Linked DNA regions of Homo sapiens: region 1 is linked to region 2. The links are contacts of gene promoters, found by promoter capture Hi-C in human tissues and cell types (Jung and others, 2019). All regions are on one chromosome and are shown on one strand. The core of a region is centred on a gene start or on the middle of the fragment in contact, and the rest is flanking DNA. Distances in the headings are between cores, read along the strand shown. Region 1 holds the start of OOSP1 (oocyte secreted protein 1). Region 2 holds the start of MS4A4E (membrane spanning 4-domains A4E).

What was found. Contacts are between HindIII fragments. The study calls those that stand out against the background at their distance.
Region 1: a contact is called between the fragment with the promoter of OOSP1 here and the fragment with the promoter of MS4A4E in region 2, in 1 of the 25 tissues and cell types used here (adrenal gland).

What each region holds. Positions count from the first base shown.
Region 1 is chr11:59,936,875-59,942,181 of GRCh38, forward strand. OOSP1 (oocyte secreted protein 1) reads left to right here and starts at 1,558. Exons shown (of 5, transcript NM_001395276.1): 1 at 1,558-1,656. The coding sequence starts at 1,581. The HindIII fragment of the contact is 12,909 bases long and covers 1-5,307 here.
Region 2 is chr11:60,241,345-60,246,290 of GRCh38, forward strand. It overlaps MS4A4E (membrane spanning 4-domains A4E), which reads right to left and starts at 1,793. Exons shown (of 9, transcript NM_001393391.1): 1 at 1,614-1,793. The HindIII fragment of the contact is 6,388 bases long and covers 548-4,946 here.

The DNA of each region.
Region 1 (5,307 bases), core at 308-2,807, 300 kb before region 2:
CATTTTGGGAGGGCGAGGCAGGCAGACCACTTGAGGTCAGGAGTTCGAGACCAGCCTGGCCAACTTGGCGAAACCACATCTCTACTAAAAACACAGAAATTAGCTGGCCATAGTGGCGGGCGCCTGTAATCCTAGCTGCTTGGGAGTCTAAGCAGGAGAATCGCTAGAACCCAGGAGGCAGAGAGTGCGGGGAGCGGAGATCGTGCCATTGCATTCTAGCCTGGGTGACAAGAGCTAAACTCCATCTCAAAAAAACAAAAACAAAACAAAAACAAACAAAAATTTTTAAAAGGAACAAATGCTAACTAATTCTATTTTTTTTCTTTCTCCTGCCATCTTTTATTGGGCACCCATTTTGTGAAAGTTAGGACACACAAAAATACAGAGGAATGATCTCAACCTTTGAAGAGCTCATCATTTAATGGCATTTTAGAACTTTTAGAACAGACTAAATTTAATGATAAAATTCAGATAATATCAAGGATAGTTAAATGCATTTATATAGTCTTTTCTATTTGTTTTTGGTAAGCTCCTACTTTCCACGTTCTATTAACGTAGGACACAGTTGCTAAACTCTAATAACTGGTTATTAGCGAAAAAAATCAGAATATATTTGAACCAAACATTCATTTAGGCTTGTTTTGGTAATGAGATTTTGAATTTCTCATTTTTAAGTTGGCATCTTCTGTTTTGAAGAAAGGAATCTAAATGTGAGTAACCATTTACAGGCATTGCTACTCACAACGTAGTCTCCAGAGCAACATCCCTGCAATCTTAAAATGCAGAATCTTAGCCTTCACCCCAGACATTCCGAATTAGAATCTGCATTGTAAAGAGAGCCTCAAGTGATGTATATGCTCCTTAAAGTTTGAGAAGCAAACATCGCTGCTAATGGGCATCAACACAGCATGCACTCTGAAGGCAAAACCCTGTAGACCAGGGATTCTCAAAGTGTGGTCCCTGGGTGGTCAGTATGAGCATCGCCTGGGAACTTGTGAGAAACATCAATTCTCAGGTCCCAGCCCAGTCTTAGTGAATCAGAAAACTAAATGACACTCAGCTGTGCTTCAATAAGCTCTCCCGGTGATTCTGATATCTATTAAGTTTGAGTACCACTGTTTAGTTGGTGAAAACAGGTGAAAGTAGATGAAATCTTTCAATTCCCATGTTCTCAGGGCTTGGCCTTCTGAGATGCACAGAACAAGTAAATTATCATCCAGTTATTTCTTTCGTGTTCAGATGTGGAGACAGATGTTATAGGATATTAGGAAGTTTTAATAAAGTAAACCTTAGTGCATAAAAATAACTATATCTGATGCTTTGGACTCTAAAACAAGTGAAGCCTTCTGTTGTACTTCTATTGCACATTTTGCTTTATCTTTGCTCTTGTTTTTTGACATTTGAGTAAAAAGTGTAACATCTTAGAAAATGAAACAAAATTATATTTATGGCACGTGTGTGCTGTCCAAAGTTGTAATTAATTACCCACACCTATGTGTGGCTTCAGGCATTTTGGCATATAAGGCTATTCTCCCCAACTTCCTGTTTCCTGAGTGAGGTTTGGTTTTCAATCTGGGCAAATGAAGACCATTCTGGGGTTCAAAGGGCTCTTTTATCTGCATTCCTTGATATGGACCTGCGCTGGGGACTGGTCAGGTATAACTTATCACTTGGGGAATAGAAGTTTCTTAAAGAGAGCTGAAAGATGTGGCTTTGGATTCTTTACAGTTGTGGTCTGGTTGAATCTTAATAATAGCCAAGGACACATGGAGGGGTGGTGCCTCTTTTCGATGTGCAATCTTGAGATACCATGTTTTTCTCTTGCATACCGGCACTGAGACTAGGGAATGTGCCCTAACCTGAGACTGTCTTTCTCCAACTCCCCTTTCCTTTTGATCTTATTCTGACCATATCAATTCTTGGGGATCAAGTACTTGAAGTGGGTTTAATATAAAGAGTGTGGAGTGGCCTGGAAAACAGAGGAGTGGGTGGTGGTAGGAACTTGGGACTCTGTGGTGTGTCACATACAGGAAGAAAGCCTTATAAGGCTTAGCCTTTCTTTACCTTATACTTCATAGATCCTTTTCATTTCAGAGGGAGCAGTCAGTGCCCCCTAAGTGAGGTGAGCAGTGGTCCAGGTTTTCCCAGTACTTTTCCTGCGTCGGCCCCAAAAACCTCCTGTTCGGAGCAAACCAGAATGATTGGTAGCCCTGAGTATAAACTTGGGCTGTCAGTTTCTCTTCCTCTATTTCTGCTTCTCTTTCTCTTTTCCTTTCTTTCTCTCCTCCCTTCTTTCTTCCTTTCTTTCTCTTTCTCCCTCGTTCCCTCCTCCCTCCCTCTTTCTTTTCTTTCCCTTCCTTCCTCCTTTCCTTCTTTTCTTCCTTTCTTTTTTTTTTGGGACAAGAGTCTCGCTGTCACCGAGGCTGGAGTGCAGTGGTATGATCTGGGCTCACTACAGCCTCTGCCTCCCGGGTTCATGTGATTCTTGTGCCTCAGCCTCCCAAGTAGCTGGCACTGCAGATGTGCACCACCACATCCAGCTAATTTTTGTATTTTTAGTAGAGACGGGGTTTTACCATATTGGCCAGGCTGGTCTCAAACTCCTGGCCTCAAGTGATCTGCCCACCTCGGTCTCCCAAAGTGCTGGTATAACAGGTATGAGCCACTGTGCTGAATGCTTTTTTCTGTTTTCTTTTCTTTCTCTCCTTCTCTCTTTTTCTTTTTTTTCTTCCCTTTCTCTTCCTCTTCCCTTTCTATTACTCTTCCCTTTCTCTTCCTCTTCTTTCTCTTCCTCTTCTCTTCCTGTTCCCTCTTCCTCGTCCCTTGCTCTTCCCTTCCTCTTTCTCTTTCTCTTCTTTTTCTCTTTTTTCTTTTTCTCTTCTTTCCCCTTCTCTTTCTCATCTTTCTCTTTCTTTTCTTTTTCTCTTTCTCTTCTCTTTCTCTTCTTTCTCTTTCTTTTGTTTTCTTTCTTTCTTTGTCACTCAGGCTGGAGTGCAGTGGTGCCATCGTAGCTCACTGCAGCTGTGAACTGCTAATTAAAAAAAAATTTTTTGTAGAGACTTGCTATGTTGCCCAGGCTAGTCTCCAACTCTTGACCTCAAGGAATCCTCCCACCTTGGCTTCCCAAAGCTTTAGGATTAAAGGCGTGAGCCACTGCTTCCTGCCTGGGCTGTCAATTTCTAAGGTTAAGATTTCGGAATTGCAGTGAAAGGTTGTGTATACTTGTCAAGCTACCCGTTCAACAAGACAACCTAGACCTGACATGGGTACATGTTAGAATCTTAGTGTATTCATTATGCTTTCTTTTATTAGGAACTATTTAAAATGGATAACTAAGTTTAAAAAAGCAGGTAACTATAAGGAATAATATCAATATTCACTGACCTGCTCTTCAGCTTTATTAAATCCATAATTTGCTACATTTGCTTACATTTTATTTTCTAATAGAAGTAAAAGTTCAGGTAGAGTTGAAGTCCCTGTGGTCATTCCTGATCCTATTCTCTTCCCTCTTTGCCCATATGTGAGTTTGGTAATTATTCATTTTCCTGTGTGTTTTACAATTTTACGTCAAATTTGTGGATCTGTAAATATGTTTCGCAGGCATTTATCTTCTATTTCTATTTAATTCTACAGCTTTTTTGTTGTCCATCACTTGGAGATTTACATTTGTAGCTTTGGTATATTTTAATTACTATTTAGCAGTCCAGTGAATAAATGCATTGCAAATTGTTTCTGTTCTCACATTGATAGAATTTTTCTAGTGTGGGGCCGTTACAAATAATGTTTGTATTTGAGTGGTTTCTTTTTGTGTGTGCATATCTAGGAATGGGACTGTGAGGCCACAGGTACAGATCTGAAAAGTAACTCTCTTGCTCAATTGTTCTTTAATTCTAATTGGTGCTCACAGATGTCTTACTTTTTGCTAATGTGGATATGAATAACTGGTTTTACATTTAAGGAACGTCTTATTTTTAGGTAATTGTAGATTCACATGCAGTGTAAGAAATAATACAGAGATCAATTATACTATTTATTCAGCTTCACACAATGGTAACATCTTGCAGAAATATAATACAGTATTACATTGGGATATTAATATTGATGTAGCCAAAGGACAGACATTTCTATTGTAATCAGGATGCCACTTTTAGAGCCACTTCTACTTTCCTCCTGAACCACTAATGCCAAACCTTCTGTCTCCGTTTTCCTTAATTTTTGTCAAGCACAGATCTGTTCTCCATTTCTACAATTTTGTCATTTCAAGGGTGTTATATAAATGGGCTCAGAGTTTGTAACCTTTTGGAATTGGCGTTTTTTTTCACTCAGTGTAATTCCTTGAAGATTCATCCAAGATGTTGCGTGTATCAACACTTGATTCTTTTTATTGCTGAGTGGAATTCCATGGCATGATTGTACCATGGTTTGTTTAACCATTCACCCACCAAAAGACATCTGGGCTGTCTTCAGTTTTTGACTATTATAAATGAAGCTATTGTTAGCATTTATGTACTTTTTTTTTTTTTGAGACAGAGTCTAGCTTTGTCGCCCAGGCTGGAGTGCAGTGGCACCATCTCGGCTCACTGCAACCTCTGCCTCCCAGGTTCACATGATTCTCCTGCCTCAGCCTCCTGAGTAGCTGGGATTACAGGCACGTGCCACCATGCCTGGCTAATTTTTGTATTTTTTGTAGAGATGGGGTTTTACCATGTTGATCAGACTGGTCTTGAACTCCTGACCTCGTGATCCACCCGGCTCGCCCTCCTAAAGTGCTGGGATTACAGGAGTGAGCCACCTCGCCCAGCCCATTTATGTACATTTTATGTGAACATACATTTTTATTTCCCTGGGATAAATGCCGAAGAGTTTAATTGTTGAGTCATATGGTTGTTGTATGTTTAGTTTTTAAAGAAATTGACAAACTGTTTTCTAGTGTGGTTGATACATTTCACATTGTCCCAGCAATGTATGAGTGACCCAGTTTCTCGGCATCCTCACCAGCGTTTGGTGTCTTCACTATTATTCATCTTAGCCATTGTGATAGGTGTGTAGTAATATCGTGATTTGAATTTGGATTTCCATAATGGCTGATGATATTAAACATCTTTTCATATAGTTATTTGCAATATGTATAGCCCCTTCTGTGAAAGGATTGCAGATTTATATTCCTTTGGTTTCTCCGCTGAGTTTTCAGTATCTCCTGAGAACTCAGGCTCCTTCTAGTATCTTAAGAGCAACTGATAAAATTTTCCTTTAGTGAAGTCTAGAAGAATAGCCAAACTTACTCTTAAAAAATCAAAAACAAAAAAA
Region 2 (4,946 bases), core at 543-3,042:
CTCGGCCTCAATCTCTCACGCACACCTTCAGACTGAGAATTTAGGACATGTTGGGTCTGTCTTATCAAACACACTTGGTAGTTCTCCCTCTGTGTTTAGTGCCTCTCGGGTAAGGCTGTAAGCTTCCTGAGGGCCGAGCCATTATATCAAATTAAGGCTTATAATTGACTCTTATGATTTTCCATAATTCTTTGGTAACATAGGTCAGGTTCTGGTCATTCAAGGCTGGTGCTCTGTCTTTATAAGACATTCTTGACATAAATTTATATAACTGCCTCCTATCTTTACACCACAGAAATCCATGTGTTAATTATCTAGGGTAGATAAGGTCCCCAAGGAAAGAAAGCGTGTGTTTACAAGACTCCACTTCTCTACAATCAAAATATATATTTTTTAACTGCAGAGAATATTGGATACATATGAGGGAGGGACATTTCTTTCAGGTTGGAGAAGAATCTAAACCTTGGTTTTGCCACATCACCTATATGCATCAGGTTCTTGACAACTACAATGTCTTCCCCGCCCCTCCTCCCCACCCCGGATAAAGAGGTGGGGTAACCTAGACCACCCTTCCCTCTTCTATTGGCCCCAGTCTCCTTGTGGATCAGCAGCACCAGCAGTCTCTTGTTTCCTCATTTTTATGTCACCATCCCCCTTATGGGTCACAACACAAGAGAGCATGAGGAGAGTGGTATACACGGTCATCCCCTTTTTCTTGGCAGAGTTATCAAATAGACTAGAAACCCAAAATGAGGCCTGAATCTGGATGGTTTTTAGGAGGATGATGGGGATGCAGAAATGGTGGCATGGGAAGGGAAAAGGGGGAAAGGCCTGGGCTAGGAACCAAGAATTCTGGGTTTTTTGCTCCTAGCCCTTTTGTTAACTTGTGTGATTCTAGGTACATTATTTCCCTTTTCTGGATTTCATTTACTTCATCTGGGGAAAGATTACAATGACTACGACTACTTACAAGCTTCTTTCTTATCCTAAGAATGCTAAAAGTCTACAAGATGTTTTTCATTTGCAGATTTTATCATGAGCAGCCTCAGTTTACTGCCTGGGTGCCACATGAATAGTGCCAAAGACCACTGGAGAACTACGTCAGGCCACAGCCCATCTAAATGTACAAGGCTGGGGACCCTGCCTGTGCCCTACTCCATGTACACCAAATTCTGCACGTGCTAGATCTTTTCTTAAGTCTTGAATTATAAAAATAACCAGTCAGAGACAAAGAATAAAGACCATGGAAGAAGTGCATTAACAGTAGATGAGGTAATTAATCAAAGTTTAAAATGTTGCTTACAGTGTTTTGGTATCCTGAGAACTTACGGAACAAAAGTAACTAAAACAACTTCATCCAGCCTCCAGTGTCAGCCTTTAGGAGGCTTTTCTAACTCCCATCAACTGTAGCGAAGACTGTTCCTCAACCACCCACAACCCTCACCAAATGCATATTTAAATGTGCACTCAATCCACCCCAACCCTGACTACCAGCTTGGGTCATGGGAAGTGACCTCATTTTTTTTTCTCACTCCACTCCCAGAAATCCTAAACCCAGGAAATGAAACAAACTATCAGTCCGAGAGCCTAGGAAGGCAAGTCCCTGGACCTACCTTTCTTCAGGCCTGCAATGTCTGCTGCAGGTCTGATGAGTGCAGGGCTCTGGGCAAGTTCCTCAAAGTTCTTTGTTCCAGACACAGTCAGCTTCCCCCACTCCACACCTCACTCAGTTTAAATCTGCACTCCTTTTCTAGTAGATGTTTGGAACCTTAAAGGATGTGTTGAGAACTTCTGAGACACACAACTAGTTCCTCTTTTTTATCGGAAGCATTAACTGATTTTGCGTTCCCAATATGGGTGTGGACGTTTATTTTGAAATTTGCTGAAAAAGCAGTGGCTGCCTGATACAGTCTTTCCTATGAAAATAATAGTGCTAATTACTGTGGGTATCAGTGGTGGAGGATTTTCTGTTTGCCAGACTCTGCTCAAAGATTGTTATATACACAACTAAGTAAATGGTAATTTATAAATGCCCCCTTTCACAATTTCACACATTTCCACAGTACTCTTCTTCCCAGAGAACTACTGTTACTATTGTATTAGGTTGGTGAAAAAGTAATTGTGCCTTAATATACACAACTTAAATATCTTATTTTCATGATATTTCACCTTTGGAGGTTCAACATGAATAGCCACAAAATGGGAACAAGTTGGTTGTACAGCAATAATTAATACAACACCTTTCTAAGTCAAAGAAGCAGCTGGTATCATAGAACAAGCTGGTCTTTGACTAAGACAAACCCAATGGCAATCATTTCTTGTATGACCTTGTTAATCCCCTGAACCTGATTCATTGGTAAAATAAAATAATGCCTTCTTTACATGGAGGAAAGCAAAGTGGCATGCAATTTTCATTCACTCAGCATTTTCTTAGAGAAAAGCTACTATAAGCCAAGCAGTGTGCCATGTGCTTCAGATAAAATGGTGAAAAATGATTTTCGCTCAAGGATTTTATAGGCTACTTGACAATATAGACAAGTAAATAAATCACCCATTATAATCAGTTACCTGCAAGGTAAAGTGGCAATGCTGATGAATAAATAAATCATTACAACCCATTATAATCAGTGATCTGCAAGGTAAAATTGGATATCCTGAGAGAGCTCATAGGAGGATCAAAGAACTCAACGTTGGGTAGGTAGGCAGAGGAGACTTCCTAGATAAAGGGACATCTAATTGGAGACCTGATGAATAAGCAAAAGACACACAAATGGAAGAAGGATGGAGCTAGGTAACATTATTATTCCCATTTTCCAGAAGATGGAACTGAAACTCAGAGATATTCATATAGCTGGTATAGATGAGATTGAAATCCAGTTTTGCCTAATCCCAAAAACTTTGTTGTCTATAATCTGAAATTATTTTAATTCTCAGAATTAAATGGGTTATATTTCAGAAATATTGTCCTGGTTTTCATGTAAAGCAACAATAGGAATAAATAATACTGAAATCAGGGAGTTAGGGTTAAGAAAGAGGCAGTTCTCTAGGGAAGGGATGATGGTTACTGAACTACCTATGATGCTAGTGAAGTTGGAGAGAATGAATGGATTTGAAAGATGTTTAGGAACGAGAAATGACAGTACTTGTTGATATAATGGATGTGTAAATCAGGAGAGAAAACAGGAAAGGATGGCGCTCAGATTCTGGGTTAGGAAACTGAATGAATGATAGAGCCATTCAGTAAGGCAATAGACATGGACCAAGACAGAACTGCAGGAACAAAGAGTAAGACTTGGAGCATATTTAATTTGAATTGTGTGGGCACCTTCAAATAAGGTTCACAAAAGTTGGATAACTGGCAGGAGCTAGGGAATGAGAACATGGCTGTAGAGGTAAACCCAACAGCTCTTCACCCAGAGGGATGAGGTTACCCAGGCTTGTGGGAGGAGGCAGAAAAAATCAGACCCTTTTTGCTAGAGAATAGAAACAGTATTATCAGAAATAAGGGTTTCCAGAGGATGGCAAAAAGAGATTAAAGAAGATAACAGGCAAACTAGGAAAATGTGGCATTACAGAAGACAAAGGTACAGAGTTTCATGACTTTATAAGAGAGGTTGAAATTCTAGACTAAGAACAGATGTCAATCTTACCTCCTCTTCCATATAGTGTGAAGTGAGATATTATTAGTGTTATTCTTAGCAGACAAGTGATTGAGGATTTATGGTGATATAAAGAACAATAAAATTGAAATTTGACAGAGAAACATAAATAGAATCACCCTACCTCTAAATAAGCATAGGACAAAACTAACTACTATACAAATAAAAGCAAATAAAAAAGAGCTCAAGTTCAGTGACAAAACAACAAGCAGCAGAGTAGGTCAGAGCCCAGAGCAGTTGTTAATTAATTTTTAAAATTATATTGGAAAAGCGGGGTCAGTTGTTCCTCTGTCCCTCACACAGGCATCACCTAACAAGGTAGTTTATCCCCAAACCAAAATATGAGAACTGTTTTATGAGCAAAAAACCAAACCAAAAAACTGTTTTAGGGTTCTGCTCTAGACAAGTATATAGAATGTGAGTGCCAGCTCTGAGTAAAAAACAGGAAAGAGACAAGAATTAAGGTCTAAGCTTCCATTCACAAGGTATAAAGGAAAAGCAAAAAGCAGAGAATATTATGGAATTGATTCCCAAATGAAAGTCCTGCGCTCACTCTTTAGAGCTGGGATCCTGATGATGAAGACACAGAGGTCACCTTAGTCTGGAGAAGGAAGGGGCTTTCTCTCAACTACATCACAACCAATCTGTATGTATAACCTGGCTTTATGCCCCCTCTTCTCTCACAGTCACCCGATGTAAGCTATGGTAAGCAAGACCTACATTCCCTGACATGATAGGAGAAATTACCAAATGAAAGTGTAAATGAACACTGAATATTTAAGAAAATCAATATCGTAAAACAGAGAAACCAAATACAACAAACAAATGAACAAACGAAAAATGTTTTCTATTTTTTTGATTGAAGGTTCTATATACCCCTTTATTGCATTATTTCTCCCTCTAATTAATTTTAGTACTTATAAAGTCTTTCATTGTGTGTTCTTGTAATCCTAAAAATTAAAGCATGTGTATTTAATTTATCAAATTCTAATAACATTTAGAACATTTATTTCCTCCAGGAAAGTCAATAGTGTGATGGTAGATTTAATCCCAAATATATAAATAAATACGTCATATGTAATAAAATACAAATATTTCAGATAAAATTTTAAAAGGTCAAAACTGAACTAATTACTGTTAAAAAGAAGTAAATTTTAATGCATACAAAAACTGTAAAGTACAAGGATGAGAAATGATGTATCGAGCAAACCTTAACCCAAAAAAAACTGATCAGAGAAAATTGACCTTAGAGCAAAATATGTTACTGATGAGCAAAGGGATTAATTT